2 separate regions of the Homo sapiens genome follow, and region 2 is linked to region 1. Evidence: promoter capture Hi-C in 16 types of primary human blood cells and fetal thymus (Javierre and others, 2016). All regions are on one chromosome and are shown on one strand. Each heading gives the region's core, a stretch centred on a gene start or on the middle of the fragment in contact. The rest is flanking DNA. Distances are from core to core; before and after follow the strand shown. Region 1 holds the start of PA2G4 (proliferation-associated 2G4). Region 2 overlaps SARNP (SAP domain containing ribonucleoprotein).

Region 1 (7,532 bases), core at 3,817-6,316:
GGAGGAGATGGAGTTTCGCTCTTATTGCCCAGACTGGAGTGCAGTGGCGCAATCTTGGCTCACTGCAACCTCCTCCTCCCGGGTTCAAGCGATTATCTCGCCTTAGCCTCCCAAGTAGCTGGGATTACAGGCACCCACCACCACGCCCAGCTAATTTTTATATTTTTAGTAGAGACGGGGTTTCACCATGTTGGCCAGGCTAGTCTCAAACTCCTGACCTCAGGTGATCCGCCCACCTCAGCCTCCCAAAGTTCTGGGATTACAGGCGTGAGCCACCGCACCTGGCAAAGCCACTCATTCTTAGACCCTCAACCCTGTTATCTGTTCTCACCTTCTATTGGCGTGCAGTTAAATGAGTGGGCAACTTTGTTCCAGGCTTCTGTCACTTGTGTGTTCTAGAAGTACAACATCAAATGAAAGGTGAGATATCAGGAGCTAATAAGTTCTCTACAATGAGAATAAGAAGCATAAAAGAACTGAGCGTTTTTTTTTTTTTTTTTGAGATGGAGTCTGGCTTTGTCACCAGGCTGGAGTGCAGTGGCGTGATCTTGGCTCACTGCAATCTCTGCCTCCCGGGTTCAAGCTATTCTCCTGCCTCAGCCTCCTGAGTAGCTGGGATTACAGGCACGCAACACCACGCCCAGCTAATTTTTGTATTTTTAGAAGAGACGGGGTTTCACCATGTTGGCCAGGATGGTCTCGATCTCCTGACCTCGTGATCTGCCCACCTCAGCCTCCCAAAGTGCTGGGATTACAGGCATGAGCCATTGCACCTGGCAGAACTGAGCGTTCTAATATCCTCCATCAAGCCCCAATGATTGTCATTCACTGGTTTTTCATTTCATAGCTTGATTATCCCTACAATCTAAAAATACTTTATACAGATGCTCCCCAACTTGCAATGGGGTTACATCTCCAAAAAACTCATAAGTTGAAAATATCACTAAGTCAAAAATGCATTTAATACCCCTAACCTACCTAACATCACAGCCTAGCCTATGTTAAATGTGCTCAGAGCACTTAAAAAACATTATCCTACAGTTGGGCAGAATTATCTAACACATGCCTATTTTATATTAGTGTTGAATATCTCATGTAATTTACTAAATACTATATGGAAAATGAAAAACAGAATGGTTGTATGGGTACTCAAAGTATAGCTTCTACTGAATGTAGCATCAAGCTGAGGACCAGCTGTAACTGCATATCATTTTACCCAGTGCTTTCACAAAGATGGTCTAACTCAATAAATTTTGCATGTGAACAGGGCAGATGTATATCCCAATCTAGAAGACAAGGAAACTGAGTCTCAGGTTAAATGATTTGCCCCAGGTTAAATGAGTGTTAAGTGAAAGAACTTGGTCATAAACCTGGGTTTTCTTTTTTCTTTTTGTAGACGGGTCTCGCTATGTTTCCCAAGCTGGTCTCAAATGCCTGGGTTCAAGCAATCCTCCCACCTTGGCCTCCCAAAGTGCTGGGATTACAGGCATGTGCCACCACATGCCTATAATATTAAGTCCAGTGTTTATCCTTTTTTACCTGGCATTCTAATCTGTTTTGTGGGGACAGCAAATGCTTATTTTTCCTTTTTCTTTTGTGAGACAGGGTTTCATTGTTGCCCAGGCTGGAGTGCAGTGGCATGATCATAGCTCAGCACAGCCTCAATCTCCCAGGCTCAGGTGATTCTCCCACCTCAGCCTCCCTGGAAGCTGGGAATACAGGCACATGTTACCACGCCCAGCTAATTTTTGTATTTTTTGTAGAAATGGGGTTTCACCATGTTTCCCAGGCTGGTCTTGAACTCCCAGCCTCAAGCTATCCTCCTACCTTGGCCCCCCAAAGTGATGGGATTACAGATGTGAGTCACTGTGCCCAGCTAAATATAGCTAATTTTAAAAAGCTGTTTTATAAGGGGTCTGTAGGGGAGGTTGGTAGTTTCATATAGAGTAGCTATAGGTGCCTAATGCATCTTTGGTTCAAACGAGCTTTGGAATTGGATAAAATAGCTTACCTGATTTCCAGGTTTGACCAGGCGTAGGGCAGCTTCAGCACAAAGGTGAGCTGCCTTAATAACATCTGCTTTCCTCCCTGTTACTTGGGTCCCCTGTAGATAAGGACATGCAATCAGTATCTTCCTGGAAAGTCTGTTAACTCAGCTGGCTATCTGGTTAATATCTGTGAGCCCATATGCGAAGACCAGCCAATGAACAGGAGGGTAAAAACAACAACAACAACAAAAACCTTTCTCCTTTTGCTTCTCTAGAGACTCTCTCAACTTACGTGGTGATTGGGGGTGGGGATAAGAAGCAAATGGCAGTGCATTCCCTCTACCCCAAGGCTAAACAGAGATCAAAAGCAGGCCACCTACCTGAGCTACATCAACCACAAAAGTGTGAGCTACATTAGCGATGAAGCCATCCACATGGACCCCAAGGTCACTGAAAGGCAAGATCAGAGTACTGCATTAGGAACTGGCATTTTGTAAATGCTTTAAAAAAAGAAAAATGCTTTAAAACGGTTTAACCTTACATTTTTACCAAGTCACCTTCCTTGAGAATATAATCCTGGTCGCTCTTCAAAGGGGAGAAGTGACATACACAGTTATTTACCGAAATGCTGGTGGGAAAAGCAATACCTGTAAAGAAAGAATCATCAGCCTACTGCCTTGCTGTCTCCCGGGAGCCCTAGTGCCCTTCAGAAATGTAGAAGGATTTTTTCAGGGTCTTGCTTAAGTTTCATCAGTTTGGATTAGGTAGGAAACTGCTTGTATCCCACTTGCCATTCCAAATTTCCAAATACCTCAGCCAGAGCTGGGGTGGGGACTGCGTCATTACAGTGAAAAAAATAAAAACATATAGGACCAAATAAGGGTCAAACGGAAAATTAGTGAGGGATTTTTTTTTTTTACCTTTCTTCATTTCCTTTTCTTTCTTGAAGATTTTCCCTGTTTCTTCCATAATCATGGCATCACCTTTCTCACACAGGCTCAGTACCGACACACCTGAGCTAGATGCTTCCACCAAGGACCGAAGTACCCCTGAGGACAGAATCCCATCATGTCAGCCTTGTATGTATTCATTGTCTAGTTACCACCCAAGGAATACCTGGAAGTTGAATTTAAGAGTTTCCATAATACTCCCTGGTGCCATTGCCCTGAGGCTGAAAGGTCAACATTCCCTTCTCTTCCTTACATTATGTGACAACTGGGTATATACAATCCATCTCCCTAGGCAAGGCCTCAGACTTTCCAAAGATGCTACCTTTGGTGTGACAGGACAGAGTTATGAACTTCAGAGGGTTCTTGCCATGGTATCCCCACATACACGCAAAGACTAGATGAAATTTATAGGCATCAGGGACAAGAAGGTAGACAGAATTGCTGACTCGAAGCCGATGCACTGTTAAATGTTACCGCATTCCTTTCTCAGACACTCTAATTAGGTGTTAGGAATCTCAATCTATATAGACTTATTTCCTCATAAACAAGTGCATAAGCCAAGGAAACTTAATCTAAGGTCCCTGGGTTTCATTTCGGGGGATCATGGCTTATCTAAAAGAAATATGAGGCCAAAGTTATAAACTGTAAGAGATTTTCTGATTCAAACCACTAGTATCTCAAATACTAAAAGGCACCAAAAACCAGGGTACGATACTAAATGTCCACTGTGATATAAAGCACAGGTTTGACTTTTGGTATCTCAGTTTTGGTGATTCTTTGAAAGCTGGTAAAACTCAGATTTTCACCCACAGGACGGGAGGCATCCTAAATACCTGTTCCCCACCATCTTTGCTGTTAAAACCATTTAAAAGCACAATGACAAGCAGTTTGTATCTCCCTAACTGGAATAAAATGGAAAGGCTAACTGGAAAGAGAGAAAAGAGAAAGTGGCATCTGCCTAGAGTGACAGGCAACTGCTGAGATCGTCAGAGCACACCTGGAGTAAGGATGACTTGTGAAAATCCTAAAATCAGTCCTCCCTTTTCCAGTAATGTTCACAAGCTTGCCTAGTTGGGATAAGACGGAGACCCCAAAACATTTGAGTTGTCAAGTCACTGAGAACAACAAATGTGAATGCTAACTAAGACTATCTGCACAGATTGGAAAGGTGGTAGTAATGAGTAACTTCAAGAAAAGCCATATATATCTCCAAGACTTGCATTAGAAGCTCCAGGAGTGCTCTCCAACGGTCTCCTTAGCTGGCCCAAGGTAGAAGGGGGCCCCCACCAGGGTAAGAGCTGAAGTAAAGAAGGAAAGGCTCCAGCAAAGCACGTGGTGGGGAAGCTGGTGGTGGGGAAGCTGGTGTCAGGGACACTAGCGGAGTAAGAAGGGGGCCAGCCATCCGCAATGGGACCCAGCAACACGTGCCGGCTTGGCTCCTGACGCCCCGGAGACGCTACAAAAACAGAGGGGCACTTCTGTCGCCAATAGCTGGGCGCTTCCTTTTCGAGGTGGCCTCGCCGCTGCCAGAATCAGAGGAAGCAATAATCGGGAATGAAGGATAGGAACAAGAGAAAACACGTCTTGCCTCCTAACAAACGGCCTCGGGTCGGAGCCTGCCAGGGTCCCCTCTCTGCGCTCATCCTGGTCGCCGACCCGCACCTCCATAGACTTCAGCCTGGGCCTGCCCGCTCAGGTCCCAGGCGCGACACCGGGTCTTCCCACCACGCCGTGCCCAGCGGACCGGTGCGGGCCCCTCAGTAGCTCAGTCCGCATGACCCCTCCGCTCCAGCCCCTTCCGGGCCAGCCTGTTACCTTTCCCTATCAGCCTTGATTCCCCGACCCCCGAGGCCGCACTCACTGTTGGCGATGTCGCCCCCCATCTTATACTTGGTCACGACCAGGTCCTCAGCGATAGTTTGCTCCTGTTGCTCGTCCTCGCCCGACATCTTCCTACTACCACCACTGCAGCCTCGTTTCCCCTGAGCCGCCGCCGCCTCTGTCTCCCTTCCCAGCCACAGGCTGTGGTCAGAGTCCCCTCGATCCTCGAGGAGAGGGCGAGCGAAAGCGCGAGCAAGCAAGGGAGCGGGCAGGCAGGCGAGAGCGAGAAGCTGCGAGCGCGCGGGCTGAGGCGCAGGGCACGCTGGGACAACTAGTCCTCTCGGCCGCCAGACTCTAGCCGCTCTCGAGGGCCTTCGAACTACAATTCCCAGCCTGCCTCTCGCGCTCCTAAGCCAGGCCCTGGGGCCTTGCCCTCCAAGGGCCTCGCACGCCGGAATCGCCGGGCACTCTGGGAAGGGTCAGGCTCCGGCGGGAAGGCGGAGCCGTTGGGGAGCTTGAGGGGAAGCGTGGTCTCTCCCGGAAAAACCACTTCCACCGAGAACGCTGAGCGAGAGCCAGTAACAGAGAGGGGCGGGCTGAGGGGAGAGGGGCGGAGCTACGGCGGGGAAATAGGTTTAAAGTCGAGCGGGCAGGGGTGGAGTAGAGTGGAGCCGCAGCGGGTGGGCAGTGTCTACACCTAGGTCGGGGAGGCTGGGTGCGCCCTTCTTCGGATCCCTGGGTCGGCTGGCGAAACCCGCCCAGCCGGTCCAGTCGTCCTCCGAAGCTGGGAGAACAGGGAGGGGCAGACAGGTGGAAGAAGACCAAGGGTGCTGGTAACGGGGGCTAACTGGGCAGCCAGACACCGGAGGGATCATCCATTTAAAGGCCTCGCAATCTAGAGGCCGGACTCCTAATGAAGTAACATGACTTTATTGTTCCAATAACAGGCACCTGGATGGAGCACCTAAGGGAAGTGTTCAGAAAGACATGTTTGTTGAGAGTTCTTACCGTGAAAAAATAAAAAGATTTGATGACTTTTCTAAGATAATGAATTCAGAAGCATCTGGAGGTTTCAGTGTTTGGCCTCTGAAGGAGGGCTTATAGGGCTTTTTATAAGTCCTAAAGCACGTAGGTTCTTTTTGTTATTCCCAATTGGTTGCCTTGTAGATTCCTACTAAAACCCTTAATGAAAAGGACTATGCGCTATGGTTGTTCTAAAGAAATAGAAGTAATAGTAGGACTAGAGAAAGCTGCATGGGACAGAGTAGCACTGTCAGAACACAGAAAGGTGAGTATCCACTGCTGAGGAGCAGATCTCTTATCTAACATACGAAATGTCTTCATTTGACAGACAGGAAGCTGAAAAAAAACTTTGGCATTTTTATTCAGACACGTATAAAAACAAAACAAAAAACTTCAGTGATACAACAGACGTTTTCCCTTAGTTCCCCATCCAAGGGGACAGAGGTGTGCAGCTGAAGCTGGATCTTTTTTCTGTCCTACCTGGAAGCTTCTCACTGCTGGATGAGAATGGCTTCTAAAAGTGGATCTTGGGGATCCTTGTGAATTTGCCCTCGGATAAGGAGTGAAGATCATTTACGGCACATGTGGATTATGGTTTACACAAAGATGTCCAGTTATTTTTCCTTCTGACTACCCCCACCACCACTTCCTGAGATGAGATGTCTAGGTATAGGAGGATGTGGCTGTTGGGGTTAGACTTGATTCAGTGCAAAAACAAGAAACAGTGCCCCTTAAACAAGGGCTGTAACTTAAATCAGTTTTTCTTGGCACCTTACAATAAGAGCACATGCACAGGAATTGGGAGGATTTTGCATCCTGGATCTACTGCTTAATTTATTTCATCTCTTTAAGGCTCAGTTTCTTTTTTTTTTTTCCCCTGTAGAGACAGTGTCTTGCTATGTTTCCATAGGCTTATCTCTAATTCTGGGCTCAAGTGATCTTCCCATCTCAGCCTCCCAAAGTGCTGGCTGGGATTACAGGCATGAGCCACTGCACCCAGTTCTAAAGTTTTTTTTTTTTTTTTTTTTTTTTTTTTAAAGAGATGGGGGTCTTACTATGTTGGCTAAGCTGGTCTCAAACTCCTTGCCTCAGGTAATCCTTCTGCCTCAGCCTCCCAAAGTGCTGAGATTACAGGCATGAGCCACCATGCCCGACTTCCCTTTGTGTAAAATGAGATAATATGTATGTCACAGAATTGTTTTAAGGATGATAAAGGACTAAGTGAGATAATGTAGGTGAAGTTTAGTATGATGCCTGGCTCATAGTTAAGTGCTGAATTATGATAGTAATCAATATCTACTCCTAACCTCTTTCTTCACAGATTTTAAGCTTCTGTCTTTCTAGGGGGTTAAGAGTCATAAACCAAAATTACACTTTCCTCTGCTAGGTTTCCTCCCTTTCCTCTTCTTGACAGTCTGATGGGAAACAAAGGCACACATAAGAGCCTAGTTCCAAGTAGTCAAGAGCCTGAGAGGAAGGGATATGGAGAGTAATCCTTCATATCTCCAGGAGTGCCTGTGAAGAAGCTGAGGAATGGGACTGGGAAAGCACACAAAATAAGGAAAACCTTTCCTGGGGTTGGGAAAGAGAAGAAAGTGCACAGCTGGCTACATACCATAAGAATTTTGTGTCAAAATGTTTAAAAGCCTCCAAAGATTGAATGGAATTGTCTGGGACTGGGGAAAAGGGGCTGGGACCTGGGAGAGAGAGGGAATAGGGAGAAGACGGTACCCTCTAAAGGCACTAGCTG
Region 2 (7,532 bases), core at 1,880-4,379, 310 kb after region 1:
TTGAAAAAATGACTTTGTGAGATAGCTTTAAAATAGAAATGTTATGGGGATTTCTGGAACAAGAAAGAAGATCAAGTGAATACCATGATAATTGGCTTCTGTGGGTTAAAAAATAGAGGTTCGAAAGTTTGAAGTTCATTATTCATAGAATATTTAAAATGTGCATTCTGTTCAGGGGGCTTTAATTCTATTAATGAATTTTGAAACAAGGAAATTGAAGTGGGTGGGGTGATCGTTTTTGATTTTTAGAGGATAGTTGTGGTTAGACTGAAGTATGTACAAAAAGATTCTGGGTCTCTGTATTTCAGGGAATGTTGTTTATGTGATTGGGTAGGAGAGAAATTTCTCAGTGAAGAGTGGAAATTTCCCATGCATCCCAGAATTCGATGTTTATTTATTGCGCTTGAGTTTAGTTGCCTAAGGGAATTGTAATAGAATGGAAGGAAACTTCCCGTCTGGGGTTCCCTTTCTGCCATGATGTGCACTGCATTGACTGTGCTTCAGAATGGTAATGGGGAGGAAGTCATTACACTGGGGTTGATGGAGAGTACTACTTTCTTGATGGCATTGGATTTCAAGTAAAACATTAAACTTTAGCCTTTTGTGCCTAAATTATAAGACAAGGTTAGGGAAGGATGGCAAGGAAATGGGAAGCGTTTAGAAATTTCTTTAAACGTCAGAATAGCCAGGGCTAGTTTAGATTCCTTGACTATTTAAAAGGAGATCCCCTTCTTCATGTTTGGCCTGAAGTTCTCCAAAAATATACCTGTTTCTAGTTTGATTCCCAACCCCCAACCAGCTAAAGCGGTTACATATCGTAGGACTTCGTTATAGTCAGCAGGGGGCACCCATTGCTTGTCTTCAGTCCAGGGATTTCCAATAAAAGGGTGGAAGAGAGTAAGTTCTTATTCCAGAATTGCTTCCTCTGAAAATGTCATTAAACCATTACTACCTTTCAGGGCATCAAATGGGAAAAGTGTTCAGGATATTGGAACAAAAGCTGCCCATGTCTCTAAATGAGGGACCTTAATGAGACTGGTTATGACCCACAGTTTTATGGGAGTTGTTTGGTGGAGGGTTAATGCCCTTCCATTTATCGTGGGTACTTCCGAACTTTGTCTCCCGCCCCTGTGGTCCCCCCTCTTTTGTTTCCTCTTAAACCTTTGACCACTAGCTTACCATGTTTTCCTAATTCAAACTCCCCTTAGACTTTTTTCTTCCTACCTTCTTTGGCATTTTTATTTGTTTCACTTTGACTGTTCCAGCTAGAGCTACATTCCCCATGGGAGAAATAAGGGATTTTTAAAAGAAGGAAACCAGACCTTGTAGAGTACTTATTAATTGTTGTGATGAACATTGGGAGGTGGTACTTAAAGGAGGATTGGAGGGTTACTCATTAGTTCAAAAGTAAATTAAAGGCTGGGCTCGGTGGCTGATGCCTGTAATCCCAGTACTTTGGGAGGCCGAGGTGGGTGGATCACTTGAGGCCAGGAGTTCGTGACTAGCCTGGCCAACATGGTGAAACCCTATCTCTACTAAAAATACAAAAATTAGCTCGGCGTGGTGGCAGGTGCCTGTAATTCCAGCTACTCAGGAGGTTGAGGCAGGAGAATCTCTTGAACCCAGGAGGTGGAGGTTGCAGTGAGCTGAGATCGTGCCATTGCACTCCAGCCTGGGCGACAAGAGCAAAACTCCGTCTCAGAAAAATAAAAGTAAATTGAAAAGTTCCTAAAAGCAAATGAGATGGTTTCTGGTGTCCTTTGAGTGTTTCCCTTCAGCCCAGTATATTTAACCAGACTTCTTTCCTTATTTCTTTATTATACTTTAGCTAAAGAAGCTTAGTTTGTTATTTGAACTCTTTCCTCTCAATAGATGACAGTTAAAGGAACCAAAGCTCTAGTGGACTTCATGTTTCTTTGGCTTAGGGGGTGGCAGAGAGATAATAGGGCAGAGAATGGTGACTCAGGTGAATTCTTACACATTTCTGAGGTTGTGGTTTAGAATATCAGTTTTCTCATTTTAAAAAATCTCTTTCTTTTCTAGGGCAGCAGAGAAGAAAGTGGTGAAAATTACATCTGAAATACCACAGACTGAGGTAGGTATTCTGCTCCCTAGTAGAACAGTCTCTACATTTCTCTCTCCCTCTTACCCTTTATTATATCTGCATCATCCTCTAAAATTTATTCACAGGCAGAAAATCAGTATTGGCAGATTTTGGTGTTGATACGTTTCACTGCCAGCTACTCTTTGGAAAATATTTGGCTGGCGTAGGGGTAGTCATTCTTGAAGTTGTAGTCTTTTTATATGTAATATTATGGTCTTAACAGTGACTCTCTTTGAGATGTTTTCAAACCTAGGATTAGATTTAGGAGGATTGTACCTTGAAAATGTATTGGTAGATGTGACTCTTATGTTGCTACTGGCCAGTAGCTGAGATTGAAATTTCTCTGGTTTCTGTGGTGCAGGACTGTGAAACCAGGTTCCATTTGAGATCTTGTGTTCAGTATCATACTTGCAAAGTAGAGAATTATTAAACTCTTTTAGAATGGCATAAAACAATGCTGCCTCATTTCTAACTGAAAGAATACCATTGGTGTTGGAACCAAGCTATTCCTTTGATCACTTTTCAAAGGTCAGCCAAACATAGCTTTTGACTTCTTGGCTTCATGCATAATGTAGGTTTTACTTTATTTCTCCCTTTTGTTTTTGAGGGCATCTAGTAATAGTCTTTTTTTGTTTGCTTTGTGGGAAGGGCCGTTAAGTCCTAGCATGGACACAACCTGATATCTTCTAGGATTGTCAGTATTTTCAGTTTAGACCCTAAGAAATTACTTCTGATGTTTTTAAGATACCTACCTTTGGCTGGGCCAGGTGGCTCACGCTTGTAATCCCAGCAGTTTAGGAGGCTGAGGTGGGCAGTTCACTTGAGGCCAGGAGTTCAATATCAGCCTGGCCATCATGGTGAAATCTCATTTCTACTAAAAGCACAAAAATTAGCTGGGCACAGTGGCACAGTCCTGTAATCCCAGCTACTCAGGAGGCTGAGCCACGAGAATCGCTCGAACCCAGGAGGCTGAGGTTGCAGTGAGCCGAGATCATGCCACTGCACTCCAGGCTGGGGGACAGAGTGAGACTCTTTTTTTTTTTTTTTTTTTTTTTTTTAAAGATACCTACCTCTGACTGACTTTCTTAAACCATAAATTGACTTTTTTTTCTCCCTTTTGTCTATTTTTACTTAGAGAATGCAGAAGAGGGCTGAACGATTCAATGTACCTGTGAGCTTGGAGAGTAAGAAAGCTGCTCGGGCAGCTAGGTGAGTGTCCCCAGCCTTTTGGGCCTCTGATAGGGGTGTTGTAAAGATGAAGATGTGTGATCCTAGCTTTTAGGTATAATTGTTGATTTTAAGTAGAATAGAGGCTTGCTGAAGGATATGAACACTTTTTTGACCCTATTCAGAACATGTCTACTGATTTGGTTATAGTAGCTATAAATTGAGCTTTATTGAGAAGGGTTTTTGTAACAGTTAAAGCCAGGAACTGACTACTACTAATTCTGATAAGGCTTCCTTTTAGCTTAATTTCTGAACCTCTTTCATGGGGTTGTTAGAATTAGCTAATGATTGCAAGGCTTGAGATCACAAGCAAGAAGTGTCATATGTATACTTGACACGGAGACAGACAAACCAGGAGTGTGAACAGCTTCCTAAAATTTAGTTTGTTTTTCCTTCTTCAGGTTTGGGATTTCTTCAGTTCCAACAAAAGGTAAGAGTACAGAGATACTTCTGAGAAAGTTACCTTTTTATTCTTTCTTTTCTGGTATAACAGGTTTTATTTCTCCAAAATAAGGTAAATTTGCTAGCTGTAGAAACTCTTTAAGAGATTGTAACATTCATCTCCTGCTTTAGGTAAAATTATACTTAGGCCTTCCTGGGCAATTAAGAGAGATACTGAATGTTATGAGAGGATAGGAAGTGCCAACATTTGTCTGTCTTTTCTTGAACATCTTCAAAGAAGTTTCTCTAGTACTTTGCTTACTTATTCTGGGGTCTCAACTGCATAAAATTATTGCATACTATCTAGTGTTATACTGGCTATTATAAGTGATAAAAGGGAAAAGAATATCTTCTACCTTAACAGTTTTACTTCTAGGAACGTATAAGGAAATAGTCTTGAATGTGCATAAAGACTTAGCCTCAGGGATTATCACAGCATTATTTATAGTGATCAATAACTGGAAACAACCAACTGTACAACAGAGAATTAGTTATTAAATGTGTGCCATGGTATAGCAGACTACTGTGCTGAAATAATATTGAAAGATATTTATCAGAGATATTAATGAAAAAAGTTACAAAATTATATTAACAGTACGTTCCCATTTTAGTCATGTAAGAGTGCATGTATAGATAGGAAAAAAGCTTGGAAGGATACATAGTAGACACTTCAGCAAGGTTTGAACTGCACAGGTCCACTTATACTTGGATTTTTTTTTTTTTCAATAAATACAGTTTGCTGTCTGTATCTGAGGGTTCACCATAACCAAATGCGGTTCAGAAATACAGTATTCTTGGGATGTGAAACCTGCAGATATGGAGGAGCAGCTTATATCTGCTGCAGGACTTGAGTGTGGTGGATTTTGGTATCAGCTGGAGGGGTGGGTTTGGATCCAATCCCCTGAGGAAATGGAGGGACGACTGTATTCTAAATTGTTAATACTCTTATCTCTGGTTGGTGGAATTTTGAATGATTTATTTCTTTTTGCTTGTCTGTGTTATTAAAATCCATACAATGAATATGTATCACTTTTGTAATGAATTAGAGGAAATTATTACTATTTTTTGAGACACAGTCTTGCTCTGTCACCCATGCTGGAGTGCAGGGACGTGATCTGGTTCACTGCAACCTCTGCCTCCCAGGTTCAAGCTATTTTCCTGCCTCAGCCTCCTGAGTAGCTGGGACCACAGGTGCGTGACACCATACCCAGCTAATTTTTGTATTATTAGTAGAGACAGGTTTCACTGTGTTGGCCAGGCTGGTCTTGAACTCCTAACCTCAAGTGATCCACTCACCTCTGCCTCCCAAAATGGTGGGATTACAGGTGTGCCGAGCCTGAAACAGTTATTATTTTTAAGAAACGGCTGGGTATGGTGGCTCATGCCTGTAATCCCAGCACTTTGGGATGCCAAGCCGGGAGGATCAGTTGAACCCAGGAGTTGGAAACTAGCTTGGGAAACAAAGTGACACCTTGTTTCTACAAAAAATTAAAAAATTAACTAGACATGGTGGCAGGTGTTTGTAGTCCCAGCTACTTGGGGCGCTGGGGTGGGAGTATCTCTTAAGCCTGGGAGGTCAAGGCTGGCAGTGAGTGTGATCTTGCCATGACACTCTAGCCTGGGTGACAGAGCAAGATCCTGTCTCAGAATTTAAAAAAAGGACAGGCTGGGCACGGTGGTTCACACCTGTAGTCCCAGCACTTTGGGAGGCCAAGGCAGGTGGATTGCTTAAGGTCAGGAGTTTGAGACCAGCCTGGCCAACATGGCGAAACCCTTCTCTACTAAAAATACAAAAAAAAAAAAAAAAAAAAAGCTGGGTGTGGTGTTGCGCGCCTGTAATTCCAGCTATTTGGGAGGCTGAGGCAGGAGAAGTGCTTGAACGTGGGAAGCGGAGCTTGCAGTGAGCAGAGATTGCTCCACTGTACTCCAGCCTGGGGGACAGAATGAGACTCTTTTCTCAAAAAAACAAAAAGAACATAGCCCCTTTTCTCAGGAACTTAAAACTTAAATGTAGTCTTCCAATTCAATCCAGTTTTCCCTGTGACTCGTCAGTAGTTTTAAGTAAGAAAATGTCCCCCAGAGATCTTCTTGTAGTGTTTTGCTGTGCTTTTAAAAAGACAGAAAAATTCTGGCCGCTATCACTAAGTGTTTTAGAAAAAAAAAATTTTTTTTCTGGCTCTTAGTTGCATCAAGAGAGATATAATTGGTGAAGATACAACAGAAATTATAGAACGTGGTGCTTTTTTATTTTTTTTAAGAGACAGGGTTTCACTATATTGCCCAGGCTGGACTTGAGCTCCTGGGCTCAAGCAATCCTCCCTCAGCCTCCTGAGTAACTGGGACTACAGGTGCAAGGCTAAAATGCTATTTGAAGAAAGATAATAGTTAAAATTAATAGTCTGAAAAGGGAACCTGATAAAAAATACAGTTTCAGTGTTACTCATAATTCTGACATCTTAGAACTATAGAGTAACTCTAAAAAATAACGGAATTTGGGAACATTTAAAAGCAAGCACTGTTTTTTTGAATGAAATCCTGAAAAGTTTGAAGTAAATAATTATTGGCTAGTTTCTTGGTGATAATTTCAGGACAGAAAATTGGCCTTAAGGAGCCATAATTTCTTTTTTTCTCTTTTTTTCTTTTTTTCTTTTTTGAGATGGAGTCTTGCTCTGTCGCCCAGGCTGGAGCACAGTGGCGCCATCTCAGCTCACTGCAGCCTCTGCCTTCTGGGTTCAAGCAATTCTCCTGTCTCAGCCTCCCGAGTAGCTGGGACTACAGGTGTACGCCACCACGCCTGGCTGATTTTTGTATTTGTAGTAGAGATGGGATTTCACCATATTGGTCAGGCTGGTCTACAAGTCCTGACCTCAGGTGATCCACCCGCCTTGGCCTCCAAAAGTGCTGGGATTACAGGCGTAAGCCACTGCACCCGGCCAGGAGCCATAATTTCAACTCATGATAGTAGTTCTTGTTTGTCCAGATGTGATCTCTTTTTTAATAGCTTTACTGAGATGCAATTTATATAACATACAGTTCATCCATTTAAAGATATATAATTCATTATTTCATAGTATATTCACAGAGTTGTGCAGCCATCATCACCGTGCTTATCACCCCAAAAAGAAAGTCTGTGCCCATTAGTAGATATCCTCCATTACCTCTCCCTGCCCAGCCCTAAGCAGCCACTGAGGTTTTTTTCTCCATGGAAATTTGCCTTCATATAAATGAATTCGTATAGTGCGTATAGTGTATTGTCTTTTGTGACTGGATTCTTTCACTTAGCATAGTTTTCAAGGTTCATTAATGTTGTAGCATGTATCTCTATTCATTTTTATTGTTTAATAATATTCCATTGTATGGATATACCATACTTAATTTAGCCAGTCATCAGTTGATGGGTGTTTTTCTTTAACTTTTTGTCTAATATGAATAATGCTGCTGTGAACATTTATGTACAAATTTTTGTGTAATTATATGTTTTCATTTTCTCTTAGCTGTATAGCTAGCAGTGGAATTGTGGGATCATATGTAACTGTATTTATCTTTTGAGGAACTGCCAAATTGTTTTCCAAAGCAGCTATACCATTTTATGTTCCTGCTAGCAGTGAATGCAGACATGATCGCTACATGCAATTTCTGCCTTTTCTTTGTCATCATAGGATAAAGGATGTTTTTATGTTGCCTAATTTGACTTGAAGACTGTTGGCTTTGATGACTTTTAAAAATATTAAATAAAACTTTATTTACTTCCTTAGGTCTG

The links. The method cuts DNA at HindIII sites, captures the fragments that hold promoters and counts their contacts. A CHiCAGO score of 5 or more calls a contact.
Region 2: a fragment that was not itself captured here is called in contact with the fragment with the promoter of PA2G4 in region 1 in 2 of 17 cell types (naive CD8 T cells and erythroblasts); the score reaches 6.5 in naive CD8 T cells.

The regions. Positions count from the first base shown.
Region 1 is chr12:56,102,093-56,109,624 of GRCh38, reverse strand. PA2G4 (proliferation-associated 2G4) reads right to left here and starts at 5,066. Exons shown (of 13, transcript NM_006191.3): 1 at 4,800-5,066; 2 at 2,909-3,037; 3 at 2,530-2,635; 4 at 2,369-2,438; 5 at 2,012-2,104; 6 at 332-395. The coding sequence starts at 4,887. ERBB3 (erb-b2 receptor tyrosine kinase 3) reads right to left here. Exons shown (of 28, transcript NM_001982.4): 28 at 6,120-7,532. It overlaps LOC105369782 (a long non-coding RNA gene), which reads left to right and starts at 5,206. Exons shown (of 2, transcript XR_944995.4): 1 at 5,206-5,337; 2 at 5,707-5,811. RefSeq lists enhancers at 4,792-5,011, 5,022-5,371. The HindIII fragment of the contact is 2,269 bases long and covers 4,003-6,271 here.
Region 2 is chr12:55,790,588-55,798,119 of GRCh38, reverse strand. It overlaps SARNP (SAP domain containing ribonucleoprotein), which reads left to right. Exons shown (of 11, transcript NM_033082.4): 5 at 2,044-2,095; 6 at 3,240-3,313; 7 at 3,733-3,761; 8 at 7,528-7,532. Among named protein-coding and RNA genes, the nearest start is that of SARNP, 23 kb to the left of the region's middle. The HindIII fragment of the contact is 2,580 bases long and covers 1,840-4,419 here.